3 separate regions of the Homo sapiens genome follow, and all the other regions are linked to region 3. Evidence: promoter capture Hi-C in 16 types of primary human blood cells and fetal thymus (Javierre and others, 2016). All regions are on one chromosome and are shown on one strand. The core of a region is centred on a gene start or on the middle of the fragment in contact, and the rest is flanking DNA. Distances in the headings are between cores, read along the strand shown. Region 1 overlaps ASB4 (ankyrin repeat and SOCS box containing 4). Region 2 overlaps VPS50 (VPS50 subunit of EARP/GARPII complex). Region 3 holds the start of CASD1 (CAS1 domain sialic acid O acetyltransferase 1).

Evidence for each region. The method cuts DNA at HindIII sites, captures the fragments that hold promoters and counts their contacts. A CHiCAGO score of 5 or more calls a contact.
Region 1: a fragment that was not itself captured here is called in contact with the fragment with the promoter of CASD1 in region 3 in 1 of 17 cell types (M1 macrophages); the score reaches 6.3 in M1 macrophages.
Region 2: a fragment that was not itself captured here is called in contact with the fragment with the promoter of CASD1 in region 3 in 4 of 17 cell types (naive CD8 T cells, naive CD4 T cells, activated CD4 T cells and 1 more); the score reaches 7.6 in naive CD8 T cells.

Annotation. Positions count from the first base shown.
Region 1 is chr7:95,515,466-95,518,165 of GRCh38, forward strand. All of the region lies in intron 2 of ASB4 (ankyrin repeat and SOCS box containing 4), which reads left to right. Among named protein-coding and RNA genes, the nearest start is that of ASB4, 31 kb to the left of the region's middle. The HindIII fragment of the contact is 460 bases long and covers 1,093-1,552 here.
Region 2 is chr7:93,239,396-93,242,095 of GRCh38, forward strand. It overlaps VPS50 (VPS50 subunit of EARP/GARPII complex), which reads left to right. Exons shown (of 28, transcript NM_017667.4): 2 at 471-539. Among named protein-coding and RNA genes, the nearest start is that of VPS50, 8.4 kb to the left of the region's middle. The HindIII fragment of the contact is 1,489 bases long and covers 621-2,109 here.
Region 3 is chr7:94,508,495-94,511,194 of GRCh38, forward strand. CASD1 (CAS1 domain sialic acid O acetyltransferase 1) reads left to right here and starts at 1,315. Exons shown (of 18, transcript NM_022900.5): 1 at 1,315-1,723. The coding sequence starts at 1,591. RefSeq lists enhancers at 600-1,588, 1,589-2,575 and silencers at 1,109-1,328, 1,369-1,518, 1,619-1,978. The HindIII fragment of the contact is 8,005 bases long and covers 1-2,700 here.

The DNA.
Region 1 (2,700 bases), core at 73-2,572, 1.0 Mb after region 3:
AGTGCAGTGATGTGATCTCTGCTCACTGCAACCTCTGCATCCCGTGTTCAAGTGATTCTCTTGCCTCAGCCTCCAGAGTAGCTGGGATTATAGGCATGTGCCACCAAGCCCAGCTAATTTTTGTGTTTTTCATAGAGACGGGGTTTCCCCATGTTGACCAGGATGGTCTCAATCTCTTGACCTTGTGATCCCCCCGACCTTGGCCTCCCAAAGTGCTGGGACTACAGGCGTGAGCCACTGCGCCCAGCTGCAGTTGCTCTTTCTGTAAGGCACTGGTTGTAGAATAAACCCTGGTATTCCCCCTGGACTAAAGGACTCCTTACTTATTATCAAAGATGCTGGCTGCTCCAGAGATGGGCACCATCACCCTTGCTTTTGCTGCTGTTGCTGCCACTCAAAAAAGTAGGCTCACTGTTGCTTGACAAATTCCTTCTCATACAATTGGCTTCTAATAACCCAAAGCCCCATTGGTACCACTCTCCTTCATGCCATGTTATCTCCCTGTTTCACTCCAGTCCTGCCTCCATGAGCCAGGGCCATTCACCTCTACCCCTAGGGCTGGTCCAGGCCTCCTCTTGCCTTTGAGTCCAGAACAGACAGAATTTTGTCCCTGAGTGGAGGAAGAAGTCCTTATCACTTTATCCAAACTTGTATCTTCTAAAAAAATCAGTCTTCCTCAGGGTTAACCTCTTTTTCAGTTGAATGATAATAGCAGCATTAATTTCCTTCAACGAAAACACCTTTCTGACCATAATATATGGTCTGATTTCATGAGCCCAACAGATTAGTGCAAAATAATACAGTAATGGTACATATTCCAAAGTCTGAGTTATTCAGTCTTATCTATGGTTACTTTGCAAAATTTTAATCAATGGTTTTTTGGAATTAAAAAGATAAAAAATAAAATAAATACAGGGTGACTGAGCTCAGTGTCTGCATCTTGGTTATTCTCCAATAGCATGTCTAGAAAGATATCCTTTCTTTAAGGTTGAGTAAGTTAAAAATAAACAAAATGATAAATAAACATGGGTTCAATGAAAAAAATGTGTCTCCCAAAGGATGAGAAGCAATATTCTGTGGAGTTGGCAGATAAGCTTTGATATGAAAAAGATTTGCTTCAGGAGACAGGGGAAATAGTTTGTGATATTTGCTTCCTGTTTTCAATATGGCTTAAAAAATACGAGTAGCTGTTAAAGAAGAAGAAACTTGTCATGAGAGCAGACCAAGTGTCAAAAAGTTTGGTTTAATAAGCATTTATAAAGCCGAGCTGTTTTCCTATTCCTTCACTGGTCTTTGTTCAGTCTTATTTGCTGGATCTGCTACTCTTTTCTGTGTTTAAATATTTGCATGTCCTAGGGCTCAGTCTAAGAGGCCCTTTTCTCCATCTGAACTCAAACCTGTGTGATCCCATCTGCTTCTGTGACTTCAAATGTCATCAAATGGTGTTCACTTTCAGCTTGGTATCTCTAGCTTGAGCCTCTGCTCTGAACTCCAGACTCATCTATCCAACTATATATAATCTGTCTCCACTGGATGTTTAGTTATCCTCTCAAGCTTTCCATGTCCAGAAAGAAAGTGTTTCCTATCCCTGTGTTAATGATCATTTGCATGGTTTGTTCTTGTAGAAATGTCTGTTTATATACTTTATCCATTTTTAAATTGGGTTATTTGGCTTTTTCTATTGAGTTGTAATAGTTCTATTTTTTTTGTTGTTATTGTTGGAGACAGGTTCTCACTCTGTTGCCCAGGCTGAGGTGCAGTGGAGCCATCATAGCTCACTGTAACCTCAAATTCCTGGGCTCAGGCAATCCTCCTGCCTCAGACTCCCCAAATGCTGGGACTACAGACGTTAGCCACCATGCCAGGTCTAGTTTTAATAGTTCTTTATGTATTCTAGACACGAGTCTTTTATCATATATATGATGATAGAATTTGGGGACCTGTCTGTTCACAGATAAAGAGAAAATAGTAGTTTTGATTTCTCCAGGAAGTTATGTATAATAGGAAGTGCAAGGAGCAAATGATGATGCCCAAAGTGAGGCAAAAATTTAGGGAGTGAGAAGAAAGGAAATCACAGAAAAATCATCACAGACTTTGTTTTCAGAGAGGGAGAAGAAAGCACACCCAAGGAAACTGAAAAAAAAAAAGAATTTCAAGAAATGAGTCATCAATACCATTAGATATAGTAGAGAGGTGTGGTAACTGGAAGGTTGAAAAATGTAGATAATCAATTACAGGCCACTAGTGATCTTCGTCTGAGCAGTTCCAGTGGAGTGTGGGGACAGAGGCAAGGTTTGATGGACTGAGGAGTGTATCGGTGGTGAGACAGTGGATGTGGAAAACAGAGACCACCCTTTCAAGGAGTTCAAACAAAAAGCAATAGAAAGAAATTGGAGGTTAGCTAAAAGGGAGAAAAGAGTTGCAAAAGCTTAAGTATGCTTAGAAAATGAGGGCAAAGAGTCCATGGGAATGGAGATGTTGGGTAAATAATAGAGATAAATTACTTGTGGAGCAATGTTCTACTGCTGGGTGTATGATCAATTGCAAAGAGGAAGGTGTTGGTCTTAAATTGGAGGAGAGACCCTACTTCCCCTAAAAGGATAGAGAGAAGGTAAAGATGCTGAATTAGTCAGCATTTCTGTTTGTTTTACCAAAACCCACAGAAACTCAATTCAGCAATGGTAGAAATAACTAGTTTTC
Region 2 (2,700 bases), core at 115-2,614, 1.3 Mb before region 3:
ATACATTGGTGGGAAATAATCAAGTAAAATGAAGGGATTACTTATATGTTAGCTTAGTTGGTTAGTATATTGTATCTGTGAATCATAATACTATTGCTTGGACTTTTTTCCTGATGGATTTAGTAATTATTATTGTATATACAAGTGGCTTTTATAGAATGCTTTTTGTTATGTAAGTTTCTTTACTTTTGGCTGTTTTCAAATCATAGATGGGTTGGACTTCTACCATTAGTTGTGAAGTTGCCGTATAATACTCTTTTATTTTAAAATACCAAAAGTACACCCTTCTCTGATTTAATAATAGTACTATATGTATTAAATGATGATTGCTTTTAGAATATATCTTCCATATTTTGAAGCAGGAAAATTTCTATTTTTAAAGTGGTCATTTCTGTTTCAGTAGGTGTATTCTATCCTTTTATAATTCTTCAGCATGATTAAAATTTTCCTCATCTTATTATTTTTTTAAGGGTCTGAAAAGCCCTCAAGAAAGCCTCAGTGATCTTGGTGCCATAGAGAGTCTCCGGGTCCCTGGAAAGGTATTGAGCTACACGTGTGAGCGTGACTTTTTACTTCCTTAAGAAAATATGATTGCCTCTGGATAGTAATTGATTCACAGAAGCTTTTCTTTCCCACAGGCAGATGGTTGTTAAGATAAGCTAGGTAAATTTTTATTGTATAGTAGGTGTAGGGCTTGTTTCATTACACGTTGGGATGCAGTATGTATGATGCATTATAGCAAAGCAAAAAATGCAAACTTGATAAATTTGGAATTTATTATATTAAATTCTTAGCCTGAAAGCAGTTGTATATATGTGTATGCACACACACACACACACACACACACACACACACTCTCTCTCTCTCTCTCTCTCATTGATTTATCTGCTGTAATTTGTAGAAATAAAGTGAAATAGTTGACTACTGACTTTTTATACTCCTAACATTCTGTGCCAAAAATCATGATTATATTTTTGTTGTGGAGCAGAGGTTTTTGAAAAAGCATCTAAACCATAGTATTTATACTGAATTGTATAACTTATCTCCTAGATTGTAGGTATTTTAGATTTTAATCCTCTGATATTCACGTGAATTTCTCAGTTTACAAATTTTATATAGGTTATTTGAAAGCTAGCTAGATTCCCCTTGGAATTATTAAGTATTGTTAAATCCCTGCTGTTTTTCTGGAGTGTTGCTGCTTGGAGCTGCCCATGTGAATAGCTGCTCCATCACAGATTAAGCTGGCACTTCTGAATGTCTGTTTTTGTATTTTTTAATTTGAGAGTGATACGTGAAAATACTGTTTGTTTTCTGCATCAGGCATTTGAATACACAGGGTGTGCTTCTCTTGATCAGCAGTTTAAGGCCTCTCCTTACACCTCGGTGTCAGCTCCTTAGGAGGATGATTTCTCATCTCTTTCAGGTGCCTTACCTGCTAAAGTGAATTTTGTATTTACTGCATTGTTTTTATTTTGGGTTAGGCTGAAACATATTCTCCAAATGCAATAAAATTATAACCAACCCTTTTGCATGAAATGGTTCAGACAAAAACTTAAGAAAAGCATTCCGTATAGTTTTATGTAATGTTATTAAAAATTAATGACTATGAAAAGGTTGGGAAACAAGAGATAGCCATAAATCCTAATTAATTGACAATAATTCTCTTTATTTCTTTGAGTTAAGAAAAAGATTATCATGCATTATGAACATACCTTGAATTAGATTGTATTACATATTGCAGAATCAATGTCAAATTGATGAGTGAGCCTCTTTAAAAAAATACATTACAGTCTTAACAAGAACTTTCTGTTGTGTTTCCACCATGAGCCATGATGTTTTCCCAGTACTGGTTGGTAGTGAATATGGTGATCTCATTACAAAGTCTTCTTATTAAATGTACACCCCTAGCTCCATCAGTGACCAGTGCTGTCTGTACTTTTAGGATAACTGGCCTTGGGTGGAGTGGCCAGTCTGGGATCACAAGGTCAGCAAATATAAATGGTTCAGGTGAAGAGTAAGCCTAAAGCACTGGTCTCTTTAGCACATACTAAGAAGCTAAGTTAGTTAAATAATAAAACAGTTAATAGTAAAAAATGTATTGATGCTATAAGCTTACATTTAACCTTACACTAAGAAATCCCTACAAGCTTCATCTGCCTGTTTGTTTTTTCTGTGTTCTCCTATAGCATAACAAATGATGGAGGGTGAGCAGAGCTTCTGCCTTCTTTCTGGGTGGTTCTGAGAACATGAGAGTTGCTGGGTCCAGAGAGTGGCAAAGCTCCAGTCAGTAAACTGAGTCTTTGGATGAGGTTTGAAGTCAGTACTGAGATCAGGAGTTAAGAAGACTCATATTCAGAAATTCCCTACACAGCATAGCTTGATGTAGCTTTAATGTTCAGTATTTTTTCACAATTTAGATAAGACTTTATACTTAGATCATAACACATATATTTTAATGATTTATTTTTGTATAATTGCTTTGAAATTAATGTTGTTGCTAGTTCTTGATGACCTGAAATTTGATGTAATTGAAGAAGATCTTTAAGATCTTTTAAAATTAAGATTAAAAGCATTTTAACAAAATGGAAAATGTTAATTCAAATGATTATTTTGAAATAACTTTTGCTTTAAATATAAAATTAATGTATGCTCTAAACAGAAAACATGGTAAACGGAAAAAGGTATCTTAAAAAAAAAATC
Region 3 (2,700 bases), core at 65-2,564:
TAAGAGGGGCCTATAAGCACAAGTTCAGGAATGGCTAAATGGGAAAGTTGTAAAGAATACTTGACAACACCCCAACTAAACAATGACTCACTCTAAACAAGGCAAGGCAAGTAGAATGGCAAGCAATGTAAATAACCATTCCCATCTGGAAGGCAACAAGAAAAACCATTTAAAAAAGGTGGGGTGGGAGCGAGAGGAGAGTAGGGATAACAATGCTTTATTAAGGAAATGGAGTGCTGGCTTTATTGAGAATCACAAAACATTAACCAACGTTAGTAGCGGGGATGATTGTCATAAGCACATTAAGAAAAATTTTTTTTGGCTAGGCTTGGTGGCTCATGCCTGTAATCCCAGCACTTTGGGAGGCCGAGATGGGCAGATCATTTGAGGTCAGGAGTTCGAGACCAGCCTGACCAAAATGGTGAAACCCCCGTCTCTATTAAAATACAAAAATTAAACGGGTGTGGTGGCGGGCGCCTGCAATCTCTGCTACTCGGCAGGCTCAGGCAGGACAACCATTTGAACCCAGGAGGGGGAGGCTGCAGTGAGCGAAGATCACGCCACTGCACTAGAGCTTGGGCGACAGGGTGAGACTCCCTCTCAAAAAAAACGAATTTTTTTGGCACATCGACCTAGCCAAACTTGCGTAAATACAAGTGAGAGTCAGACTCTTTTCTCATCAACACCTACACTAAGTTAGGCTCCTTCTGTACCTTCCATTCGGAACTTTGGTGTACTTTCGCCCACCAGAACTGGGCAAACTGAGGACATTAAAAAAACGGTTTAAGAGAAACTGGCCAGAGCGGTGAGTTAAGTGTTAAGACTGGTTTCACTCCTGGGTTGGATGCCAGCAATCCATCGGCCAGCACCATCAACTGGATCCATCAATCCAATCTGGCCAGCACCCAGGGGCAGCCAGACTGACCAGCCAGGCCACGGATAGCCAGACAATAAACGACCTTAGGGTGTCCTTCGCATCCCGCTGGGCGGGTTCTGGCAGTAGAAGGCTGAGAAAGGGGAGTGTTGGGGAAGGAAGGAATGGGACGATGTGTACTTTTCTCCCGGAACTGTAGTTCTATTGCCCCAACCTGGGCTCAGGTAGCGGCCAGTAAACTAGGAGACAGCCCTAAGGCTCGCGTCCGGGCCAGGCGGGTACCCCTAGTACTCTCTCCCCACACCCCCATGGCTCTGCCGCAGCCGCCGCCGCCCGCCGGGGCGCGTGACCCGGTGACCCCGGAGCACTGGGCATCCGGACCCCCCTCGCAGGCGCAGCCGCTATTAAGGCAGGAGGCTAAAGAGGAGGAGGAAGGGGAGGAGACAGGCGTCCAGGGCGCCTGGGGAACCGGCACGGCGGAGCAGCGGCGGCGGGGCTGGGGGGAGGCCGCCGAGTCGGCCGCGGCCGAGGAGGGGCAGGCGGAGGTCGGGGGCGCCGCGGCCGCGGGGTCAGGTTCCCCGGCGGGAGGCGCAGGTGGCGGCCTGGGGAGCTGGCGGCCGCTCCTCGCCTGGCTGCAGCGGCGGCAGCCCCAGTGCTGCCCCTGTGCGGCGCCCCTTTCCCGCTCCGCCGCGCACTGTTGTCATGGAGGAACCAAGATGGCGGCTCTGGCCTACAACCTGGGCAAGCGGGAGATCAACCACTACTTCAGCGTGAGGAGCGCCAAGGTGCTGGCGCTGGTGGCCGTGCTGCTGCTCGCAGCGTGCCACCTCGCCTCCCGCCGCTACCGAGGTGAGCGGGCCCTCCCCTCTGCCCGGGCAGGCCGTGGGGGAGGCGGCGACGCGGCGGCTGGAGGCCGCCCCCATCGCCCAACACACGCCCACGCGGCCTTCCGCCGGCCCGGCCCGCGGGGGAGGCGGTTCCCCCAGGTGTCCCCAGCAGCGGCCGGCGCCCGAGGCCAACTGAGTGGACCCCAGTGGGGGCCACCAAAGGACAATGGCTGGTGGTTCTGGGCGCCCCGAGCCGCCCGCGCTGGGGTCGGGGGCGCCAACCCTGGACCTGGCCAAAAGTGCTGCTGAGGTCCGGCTCCTGAGCGGTCTGGGTTCGGGGAGACGCTCCAGATCAGGGGCTCGCGTGCAGGAAGTCGGACAGGCGGTCCTTGGGGGCAGCCCGGGGCGCATGAAGCCCAAGGCCGCCCTGCAAGGGGCACCGCTGCCAGCAGTGGGGTCGCAGGTCCTGCCTCTTAAGGGTCCGGCTCCTTAGCCTTTGTTTAATTTTGCCTCTGCCCTGTAACACCCAGTCTGGGCTGTTGGACAGCGGCAAGGGCCGCCCCCATTTTCCTTTGCCAAAAGGGCGACAGCTGGCAAAAGATGCCTGTGGCCAAATGGAAGAGGTGCCACCCAGCTTTTGTGATGCAGAAACGTTTAAAGGCTTCGGAGTGCACACTTTTTACAAAGTTAAGGCACCAGAGCAGATTTTTGGAAGGAAGTTGTGGGTTGACAGGCGTAAAGGTGGGCAGTTGAAAGCAAGTTGTAAGCACTTTGAAAGCAGGCCTTGGCCATGGGTTTTGAAATTGGTGTAAAGGGGAAAAGGAAATATGACCTGATTTGAGAATGAATTATCTTTCAGTAATCAAGGGATATTTACTTCTCCTTGCTGATTGATTGTTTTTTTTCCTTTGTAAAAATGTCACTGGGAGAGAGGCTGACAGGCAGAGGGAAATTAATAATGATAGGATCTTTTATTTTTGGCTCTTAATACTATCAAAG